Regions from separate parts of the Homo sapiens genome. Here regions 2 and 3 are each linked to region 1. Evidence: promoter capture Hi-C in human tissues and cell types (Jung and others, 2019). All regions are on one chromosome and are shown on one strand. The core of a region is centred on a gene start or on the middle of the fragment in contact, and the rest is flanking DNA. Distances in the headings are between cores, read along the strand shown.

Region 1 (3,117 bases), core at 29-2,528:
AGCTGGCATGCGCCTGTAATCCCAGCTACACAGGAAACTGAGGTGGGAGAATCACTTGAACCCGGGAGGCGGAGGTTGCAGTGAGCCGAGATCGCACCACTACACTCCAGCCTGGGCAACAGAGTGAGACCCTGTCTCAAAAATTAATTAATTAATTAAACAAACAGAATAAAAAAAATCTATTGAATACCTACTATGCCAGGCATTGTTTTAGACACTGGGGATACTGTGATGAGCAAGAAAACATCCCAGACCTCTGGAGTTTGCTTTGTAGTGGGGAGATGATCAATAAACAATAAATATTTAATATAATGTCAGATAATGATAAGTACTATGAATGAAAACATTAAAGCAGGGTAAAGGAGAATAGGGATGCTGATTTAGATTGAGTGGCCAAGGAAGGCTTCTCTAAAGTGATGACACTTGAGCAAAGACACAAATGAGAGTCAATATTTGGAGGAAGAACATTCCAGGTATGGGGAATAGCAAATTTAGAGACCCTGAGGCAGAAATATGCTTAATGCATTGGAGGAAAACATGCCATTTATTCATTAGGCAATTATTGTGTGCCAAGCACCTGCTAGGGAGTATGAAGATGCAATCAAACATAGTTTTTGCCCTGAAGAAGCAGCAGGGCAAAAGTGGTATAACATGTAAATAAATAATTACACTGCACGGGACAGCTACAGTAAAGCTATGTACAAGTTGCTAGTGATGCCCAGCAAAAGGAGCACTAAAGGGAAATCTTTCTGGGGGAGGTGACATTTTAGCTGATGGTTTGAAGGAATAGGAGGAATTGATGATGCAAAGGAGGAGGAGAGAGATTAGACATCTTAAGGCCCGATGTCCTGAAAACAAAGGACAATTTGGGAACCTGAAGTTCCCAGGAGAGGCAAAAAATGAGGCTGATGAAGGTGGAAGAGCCTGGATCATGCGGATCTTTGAATGCCAAACTGAAAAGCTGGTTTTATTCTCTGGATGACGGGGAACCAGTAGCACGATTCTCTCTCCCACTGTATCTTTGAGATGTGTTCCCCTATTCTTTTTTTTTTTTTTTTTCTTTCAGTACTGGATTCTTTCCCCGCTTCCCGCTATTGCCCTGCTCCTGACACCTCCTTCCTTCTGTGGCCAGTCCTCCAATCCCTGCTTTCAGGAGAGCCCCATTTTTCACCATCACCTACCTAGTGTCCCACCTCCCCAACCCGAGGCCCCGCCCCCATGGCCCCGCCTCAGATGACGCGACACGCCAAGTGCGTGGGGATTCCCGCGGCCCTGGCCACTACCCGGCCTGCCCCGCGGCAAGATGGCGGCCTGAACGCAGCTGGCAGCGGCGGAAAGTTTGTTGTGGGGTTGGAGTAGTCGGGCGGGGAAGCCAGAGTTGGGGAGGATTGCGGGGGCCCTAGCCTGTAGTAGGGGCGAAGGGGGTACTGGCTCCAGGGTTGAAAAGAGGAGATGGAATGGAGTAAGGTCCGAGGCGGAGAGGAAAAAAAGGAGCTGGGGCGGACCGGGGCCCTAGGGTCCAGTGGCAGCCCTAGGGGAGGGGGATTTGGGGGCGGGGCAGCCAGAAGTAGGTGTTGTGCAGGCCCTGGAGAAGCAGAGTCACAAGTTGGAGGAAAATTTCTTAGCCGCGAATAAAGAAGCCTGGAGCGTGGGATAGAGGCCCGACTGTATCTGGCCGGCCAGAGGGGAAAGGGATCTTTCTAGTAGAGTGGGATAGTGAGGAAGAGAGATCTGGAGGATGCCGGGCAGATCTGCTAAGGAGGGAACTAAAGCCAGTCAAATGACCCTCTTCTAGGCTTAGATCAGCCTTTCCACAGCTGTTAGCAGCATCTGCCCCAATTTCAGCTGAAGATTCAGGTGCCCCAGGGACTGGAAGAAATTACAGTGCCTACTTGGAAAGAAGAAGAGATAGCGACTTGCCCCAGTCCAACCCCAGAGCGGGTAAGGTGGCTTCCAGTGACAGGTTTCTGGCTGGCATGCTCCCTGGGAGGAGGATGCATGGGCTTAGAGTGATGCCAAGAAACATTTGGTCTGAAAAGGGCTCACTTTTATAGAGTTTGTCCTTTGTCTGAGGTCCTTAAGTTAGTGTTTGGCGTAGATTGCAGGCTGACTTTTGAGAGTTGGTGTAGAATTAAGCCTTGTGTGCCTTCACCTATGCAAGTAAACCTGGACAGAGGCCTAGAGACCAGGCCGAAGGATGTTAACACATCCCTGTCACAAGCAGTTTCCTACATGCTCATTGTTTCTGCTTCAATATCCCCATCACTTCTTCACTTTGGCGTCCTGCCTGGAAGTGGAGATTTGTGGGTGACAGATGGTGGGGAGTCACGAGAAAACAAATTCTGATCGTGTTCACTGACCATTTAGGTACCTGCTGTCACTGACTCCTGAATTCATTCTCGCTGTGTGTCTACTTTTGCTTTTTTGGTAAGAAGGGCTCATTAGTGTTCCTCTGGGGATGTGGATTTTGGTGGGGGTATCAGAGGTGAGGGAAAGGCAGGTTGGGATTAGAGAGAAAAAATGTAGATCAGTTTCTGGTAAGAGATCAAGTGGACTGATGTAAAGCTCTGGGAATGTTTAGCACCGCACTGCCTATCCTTGAGACCCCTAATATTTGAGAGCTACTTTACAGTTGGACAAGTGTGGTGATGCAAAGAAAGGATCATGGAACTTGCTCTTTTCTTTTCTGGTAGTTTTTTTCTCTCCTTTGTAATCTTCCCATCAAACCACTTTTGAAAAATATCAGTCTCAGTAGCCAAACTAAGCATGGCCTGAGAGGTAGTGGATTTGGTGTTGGAGAGAAAGGAAAGGGACTGGAGCCAGAGAACACAGTGAATGTGGCCTTCACTTCCTTTGGTGAGTGTTTTGCCCTAGCCAGAGTTGGGAGTAGCCTTCTTATTGAAGCCTGCTTCAGGATCAGCATCGCTTCATGGTGGACTAGGATGGTTTGATCTAGAACTCTTCATTTACTGTCTGCTCTGTACCTGTCCCCCCAATCAAAGGCTTACTCCAAACAGAACAACCCAAGTCACTGTTACTAGGTCAGCTTCAGTACCTTTAGGTATTTGAAGAACTGATGATATGTAGCTGTGACTCTGTTTCTGAAGGTTGAGAACC
Region 2 (2,953 bases), core at 34-2,533, 350 kb before region 1:
GGGAAGAGTCTCTGGGAAGAGCCCTTTTCCAGTTTGCACAAAGGCACTCTGAGCTAGTGATGGTTCCACTTCTCTCTCCCCACCACCCACATGGGTCTTCTGGGATGGAAGGGTAGAGACCCCAGGGATGAGAGAGACACAAGAGACCTAGGTAGTCAGGTGGTCATAGTCTAGATAGCGTGATCCAGTGTGGCAAAGACATCACACACACACACACACACACACACACACACACACACACACACACACACTTTTTAGAGGAAGCAAACACCTCTAGAAGGTTCCAGCCCTACTGCAGGGACTTCTGTTCTTGCCTGGACCCTAGGAGAACATAGAACACCTTTGCAGTGTCAGGCACGACCATGGTCCTTGGGGGTGTGGCTTCCTAGGCTAGGGGCTTGGATGCCACTTGGCTTCAGCCCTGAGGACATCATCAGTAGCCTGCCTGGTATGGCTGAGGGGTATCTGACCCTGGAGCTGGGTGCCCTATCAACGTGGCCCTGTGGGAAGGTGGCTTCCCTGTCTTGACAGTTGCACATGGTGGTTATTCTGTGTATTAGTCCATTTTAATGCTGCTGATAAAGACATACCCGAGACTGAGCAGTTTACAAAAGAAAGAGGTTTAATTGGACTTACAGTTCCACATGGCTGGGCAAGCCTCACAATCATGGCAGAAGGCAAGGAAGACCAAGTCACGTCTTACATGGATGGCAGCAGGCAAAGGAGAGAGAGCTTCTGCAGGGGAATGCCTCATTTTAAAACCATCAGATCTCGTGAGACTTGTTCACTATCATGAGAACAGCACGGGAAAGACTTGCCCCCATGATTCAGTTACCTCCCACTGGGTCCCTCCCACAACATGTGGGAATTATGGGAGCTACAATTTAAGATGAGATTTGAGTGGGGACACAGCCAAACCATATCACTCTCTCTCGCACCTGCATTGCCATTTGCCTCATTGCTTCCCGAGCTGATCTCCTGTAGTTGGAACACACACCTGCACGTGCACCTGAGCAAGTGTATGCAGGCACACACACCAGTCTGGAGTGTCAGCTTCCTTCTCTCTGCCCTGTTCCTGGTCGATTCCTTACTACATTTCCGACTTTGCAGGAAAGGGGTTCCCTTGCATTCCTTTCCAGAACTAGGCCTATTGGCCACTTTCTCCAAATTGCACTCTCCCCTCTGCAGCCCCCCACACCTCCGCAGAGCCACAGTGTTTGCCAACGGGTCTCTGCTGCTGACCCAGGTCCGGCCACGCAATGCAGGGATCTACCGCTGCATTGGCCAGGGGCAGAGGGGCCCACCCATCATCCTGGAAGCCACACTTCACCTAGCAGGTGAGTCTCTGGGTCTGGGGTGCTGATGTGGGAGGCTGCCTTTAACATTTTTGGCACATAGAGATTTAGGCTTCTGTTTTTACTCAGCCGCTTGGAGGGCAGGGGAAGAAAAGGATGCTGGGAGTAGGAAGAGGATATGCAGAGGGCTGCAGGGGAGGGTTTGTGCTGGGAAAGGGCCTAGGCTTGCTGTGGGAGAACATCATGTACCCTGAGACCCACAATAATTGGGCCATTCCTCCTACTTATGTCCTTGCAGAGATTGAAGACATGCCGCTATTTGAGCCACGGGTGTTTACAGCTGGCAGCGAGGAGCGTGTGACCTGCCTTCCCCCCAAGGGTCTGCCAGAGCCCAGCGTGTGGTGGGAGCACGCGGGAGTCCGGCTGCCCACCCATGGCAGGGTCTACCAGAAGGGCCACGAGCTGGTGTTGGCCAATATTGCTGAAAGTGATGCTGGTGTCTACACCTGCCACGCGGCCAACCTGGCTGGTCAGCGGAGACAGGATGTCAACATCACTGTGGCCAGTGAGCACCTTTGCCCTGAAGGTCAAGGAGAGGTGGAGGGGAACACAGGTCTGGGTGTGATGGACAGAGGCTTCCCTGGTACTCACCTGAGGTCCTCTCAGTTCTGGGCCCTGCAGGCTTGGGAATCAGTTCACTACTGGGAGTCGGTGTAGACAGTAGAGAGCCAGGCACAGGGGTTAGGGTGGGTGCTCCAGAGGAAATAGTGACAGCCCTCACAGAAAAATGGTCCTCTGGGTACAGAGGAAAGAGCAATAGACTAGGAATCTAGAGACCTGGGTCCCACTATGCTCCCAATGCACAGAGTGACGATGGTAGCAAATCACCCACCTTACTGGGGTTCAGTCTCCTCATCCATAAAATGGAGCCAGTAATCTACTACCTACCCCACAAGGTGGTTGGAAAGGTCAAATGAAGTAGATGAAAATGATTTTTCTTTTTTTCTTTTTTGGGAGGTAATAGTGGACAAAATTATAGGTGATTTTTAATTTGTTTTAGTTTGTTATGCTTTCCAAATTTCTTTACTAAACATATTACTTATGAAAAAAAAGAGGGGGAGAAAAGCAAGACATATGACTGAAAGTACACATGATAAACCCTTTATATCAGGCTGGGCGCGGTGGCTCATGCCTGTAATCCCAGCACTTTGGGAGGCCGAGCCGGGCGGATCACAAGGTCAGGAGTTGGAGACCAGCCTGACCAACATGGTGAAACCCCATCTCTACTAAAAATACAAAAATTAGCTGGGCGTGGTGGGGCACACCTGTAATCCCAGCTACTCAGGAGGCTGAGGGAGGAAAATTGCTTGAACCCAGGAGGCAGAGGTTGCAATGAGCTGAGATCGCACCGTTGCTCTTCAGCCCGGGCAACAGAGTGAGACTCCATCTCAAAACAAAACAAAACAAACCTTATATCCTCACTACAGGCATAGGGATTTATTTGTTTACTTATTTCTTTATACCATGCCTTGTTCCAAACCTTTTGTGGTAGTTTAAAAGGATACACAATAAAAATTACAATATGCACACAGAGACACACATACATACAAACTATTTTGCAATCTGCTTCTTCCACTTACCTTTATGTTACTATTATC
Region 3 (2,893 bases), core at 349-2,848, 450 kb before region 1:
CAGTGGTGCAATCTCGCCTCACTGCAACCTCCACCTCCCAGGTTCAAGTGATTCTTGTGCCTCAGCCTCCCGAGTAGCTGACATCCGCCACCAAGCCCAGCTAATTTCTTTCGTATTTTTAGTAGAGATAGAGTTTTGCCATGTTGGCTAGTTTGATCTTAAACTCTTGGCCTCAAGTGATCTGCCTGCCTCAGACTCCCAAAGTGCTGGGATTACAGGCGTTGAGCCACCGTTCCGGCCTTAAGGCCTCTGCTTTTATGTGGGATTTGTGGGTAGCCTAGAACTACTTTTTAGTGGGCCACATATTGGGATAGGCAATAAAGCCTAAGGCATCTACAACTGGGAAGTCAGATCAGAAACCCCTCCCACTTAAATCTGGGCCCCTCAAGGATGACAAGATCATTTAGTGGGTGAACCAATCCCACAACTCCCCTACTTGGCTTTGGTTTTGGATGCAAGGGATGTTAAGAGGTAGGGATATAAAGCTTCCATGGTAATATACAAGCACAGCTGGCCTTCAGTACTGTTTGGGACAAGAGTTTATAACCCATGTGGTCTGGAAAATCCTCAGGCTGATAACTTAGTTTAAAATAGTCTCAAGTAGGCTGGGCGTGGTGGCTCACACCTGTAATCCCACCACTTTGGGAGGCCGAGGCAGGCGGATCACCTGAGGTCAGGAGTTCAAGACCAGCCTGGCCAACATGGTGAAACCCCATCTCTACTAAAAATACAAAATTAGCTGGGTGTGGTGGTGGGTGCCTGTAATCCCAGCTACTCAGGAGGCTGAGGTAGGATAATCACTTGAGCCTGGGAGGTAGAGGTTGCAGTGAGCCAAGATCGCACCACTGCACTCCAGCCTGGGCAAAAAGAGTGAAATCACCACCGCGCCCCCCCCCCCAAAAAAAAATGGCCAGGCATGGTGGCTCACACCTGTAATCCCAGCACTTTGGGAGGCAGAGGCAGGTGGATCACGAGGTCAGGGGTTCGAGACCAGCCTGACCAACATGGTGAAACCCTGTCTCTACTAAAAATACAAAAATTAGCCGGGTGTGGTGGTGGGCGCCTGTAATCCCAGCTACTCAGGAGGCTGAAGCAGGAGAATTGCTTGAACGCGGGAGGCGGAGGTTGCAGTGAACCAAGATCGCGCCACTGCACTCCAGCCTGGGCGACAGAGCGAGACTCCGTCTCAAAAAAAAAAAAAGTCTCAAGTAGATAGTGTCTCCAGGGTCCTGGCAGAAGCAAATGTAATCCTTTCTTGAGGATTGTTTTTTTTTTGTTTGTTTTTTGTTTTTGAGATGGAGTCTCACTCTGTCGTCCAGACTGGCAAAAATTAAAATGTGAGAAGTATAAAATAAAAAATACAAAATGTCTTATGTTTAAAGAAAAAGTGTGACAAATGAATATCAAAAGGTACTAAACTGGTGTGATTAAAAAGTAAAACTTAAGGCCGGTCACGGTGGCTCACGCCTGTGTTCCCAGCACTTTGGGAGGCCAAAGCGGGTGGATCACGAGGTCAGGAGATGGAGACCATCCTGGCTAGTACAGTGAAACCCTATCTCTACTAAAAATACAAAAAATTAGCCAGGCGTGGTGGCGGGTGCCTGTAGTCCCAGCTACTCTGGAGGCTGAGGCAGGAGGATGGCATGAACCTGGGAGGCAGAGCTTGCAGTGAGCCGAGATCGTGCCACTGCACTCCAGCCTGGGGAACAGAGCGAGACTCCATCTCAAAAAAAAAAAAAAAAAAAGTAAAACTTAAAAAGAAAACCTTTTAAAAATGAAAAGTAGGGCCAGGCATGGTGGCTCGTGCCTGTAATCCCAGCACTTTGGGAGGCTGAGGTGGGTGGATCGCCTGAGGTTGGGAGTTCGAGACTAGCCTGGCCAACATGGTGAAACCCCGTCTCTACTAAAAATACAAAAAATTAGCCGGGCGTGGTGGCGCATGCCTGTAATCCTAGCTACTTGGGAGGCTGAGGCAGGAGAATTGCTTGAACCTAGGAGGCGGAGGTTGCGGTGAGCCAAGATTGCGCCACTGCACTCCAGCCTGGGCAACAAGAGTGATACTCCACCTCAGAAAAAAAAAAGTACACTACGAGAAGTTAGAAACTTTATGGTTAAGCAGCAGATTAGACTTCTCCCTAAAGGGAGAATGAACTGGAAATAGATCTGAAGTTACACAGAGAGAGCACTGACATACAGAGAAGTGGAAACTAAGGAAAAGAGGTTAAAAAACATGGAAGAGGCTGGGTGTAGTTGCTGACACCTGTAATCCCAACTTTTTGGGAGGCATAGAGAGGACTGCTTGAGGTCCTCAGTTGGGGACCAGCCTGGGCAACATAAGGAGACCTTGTCTCTAAAAAAAAATTAAAAAATCAGACATGTGGCACATGCCTATAGTCCCAGCTTCTCTGGAGGCTCAGGCTGGAGGATTGCTTGACCCCAGGAACTTGAGGTTGCAGTGAGCTATGATGGCATCACTGCACTCCAGCCTGGGTGACAGAGCAAGATCCTGTCTATAAAACAACAAAATGAAGATAAATGTGAGACTTGACAATCAAAATTTCAGGAAAGAATATTTCAAAGAGGCTGGGCATTTTCTAGAATTTTTTTTGAGATGGGGTCTCCCTCTGTCGCCCAAGCTGGAGTGCAGTGGCACGATCTTGGCTCACTGTAACCTCTTCCTCCCAGGTTAAAGCTATTCTTCTGCCTCAGCTCCCTGAGCAGCTGGTATTTCAGGTGTATGCCACCACACCTGGCTAATTTTTTTTTTTGTAGGGATGGGGTTTCACCGTGTTGGCCAGCTGGTCTCAAACTCCTGACCTCAAGTAATCCACCCACCTAGGCCTCCCAAAGTGATAGGTTTACAGGTGTGAGCCACCGCACCTGGCCTAGTTTT

The links. Contacts are between HindIII fragments. The study calls those that stand out against the background at their distance.
Region 2: a contact is called between a fragment that was not itself captured here and the fragment with the promoter of TJAP1 in region 1, in 1 of the 25 tissues and cell types used here (liver).
Region 3: a contact is called between a fragment that was not itself captured here and the fragment with the promoter of TJAP1 in region 1, in 2 of the 25 tissues and cell types used here (lymphoblastoid cells and pancreas).

Annotation. Positions count from the first base shown.
Region 1 is chr6:43,476,292-43,479,408 of GRCh38, forward strand. It overlaps TJAP1 (tight junction associated protein 1), which reads left to right and starts at 1,279. Exons shown (of 11, transcript NM_001350562.2): 1 at 1,279-1,337; 2 at 1,796-1,941. RefSeq lists an enhancer at 1,629-2,422. The HindIII fragment of the contact is 19,262 bases long and covers 1-3,117 here.
Region 2 is chr6:43,130,828-43,133,780 of GRCh38, forward strand. PTK7 (protein tyrosine kinase 7 (inactive)) reads left to right here. Exons shown (of 20, transcript NM_002821.5): 6 at 1,189-1,337; 7 at 1,594-1,860. Among named protein-coding and RNA genes, the nearest start is that of SRF, 39 kb to the right of the region's middle. RefSeq lists enhancers at 1,238-1,739, 1,740-2,239. The HindIII fragment of the contact is 9,413 bases long and covers 1-2,953 here.
Region 3 is chr6:43,029,680-43,032,572 of GRCh38, forward strand. No RefSeq gene overlaps it. Among named protein-coding and RNA genes, the nearest start is that of RRP36, 9.5 kb to the left of the region's middle. The HindIII fragment of the contact is 7,304 bases long and covers 1-2,893 here.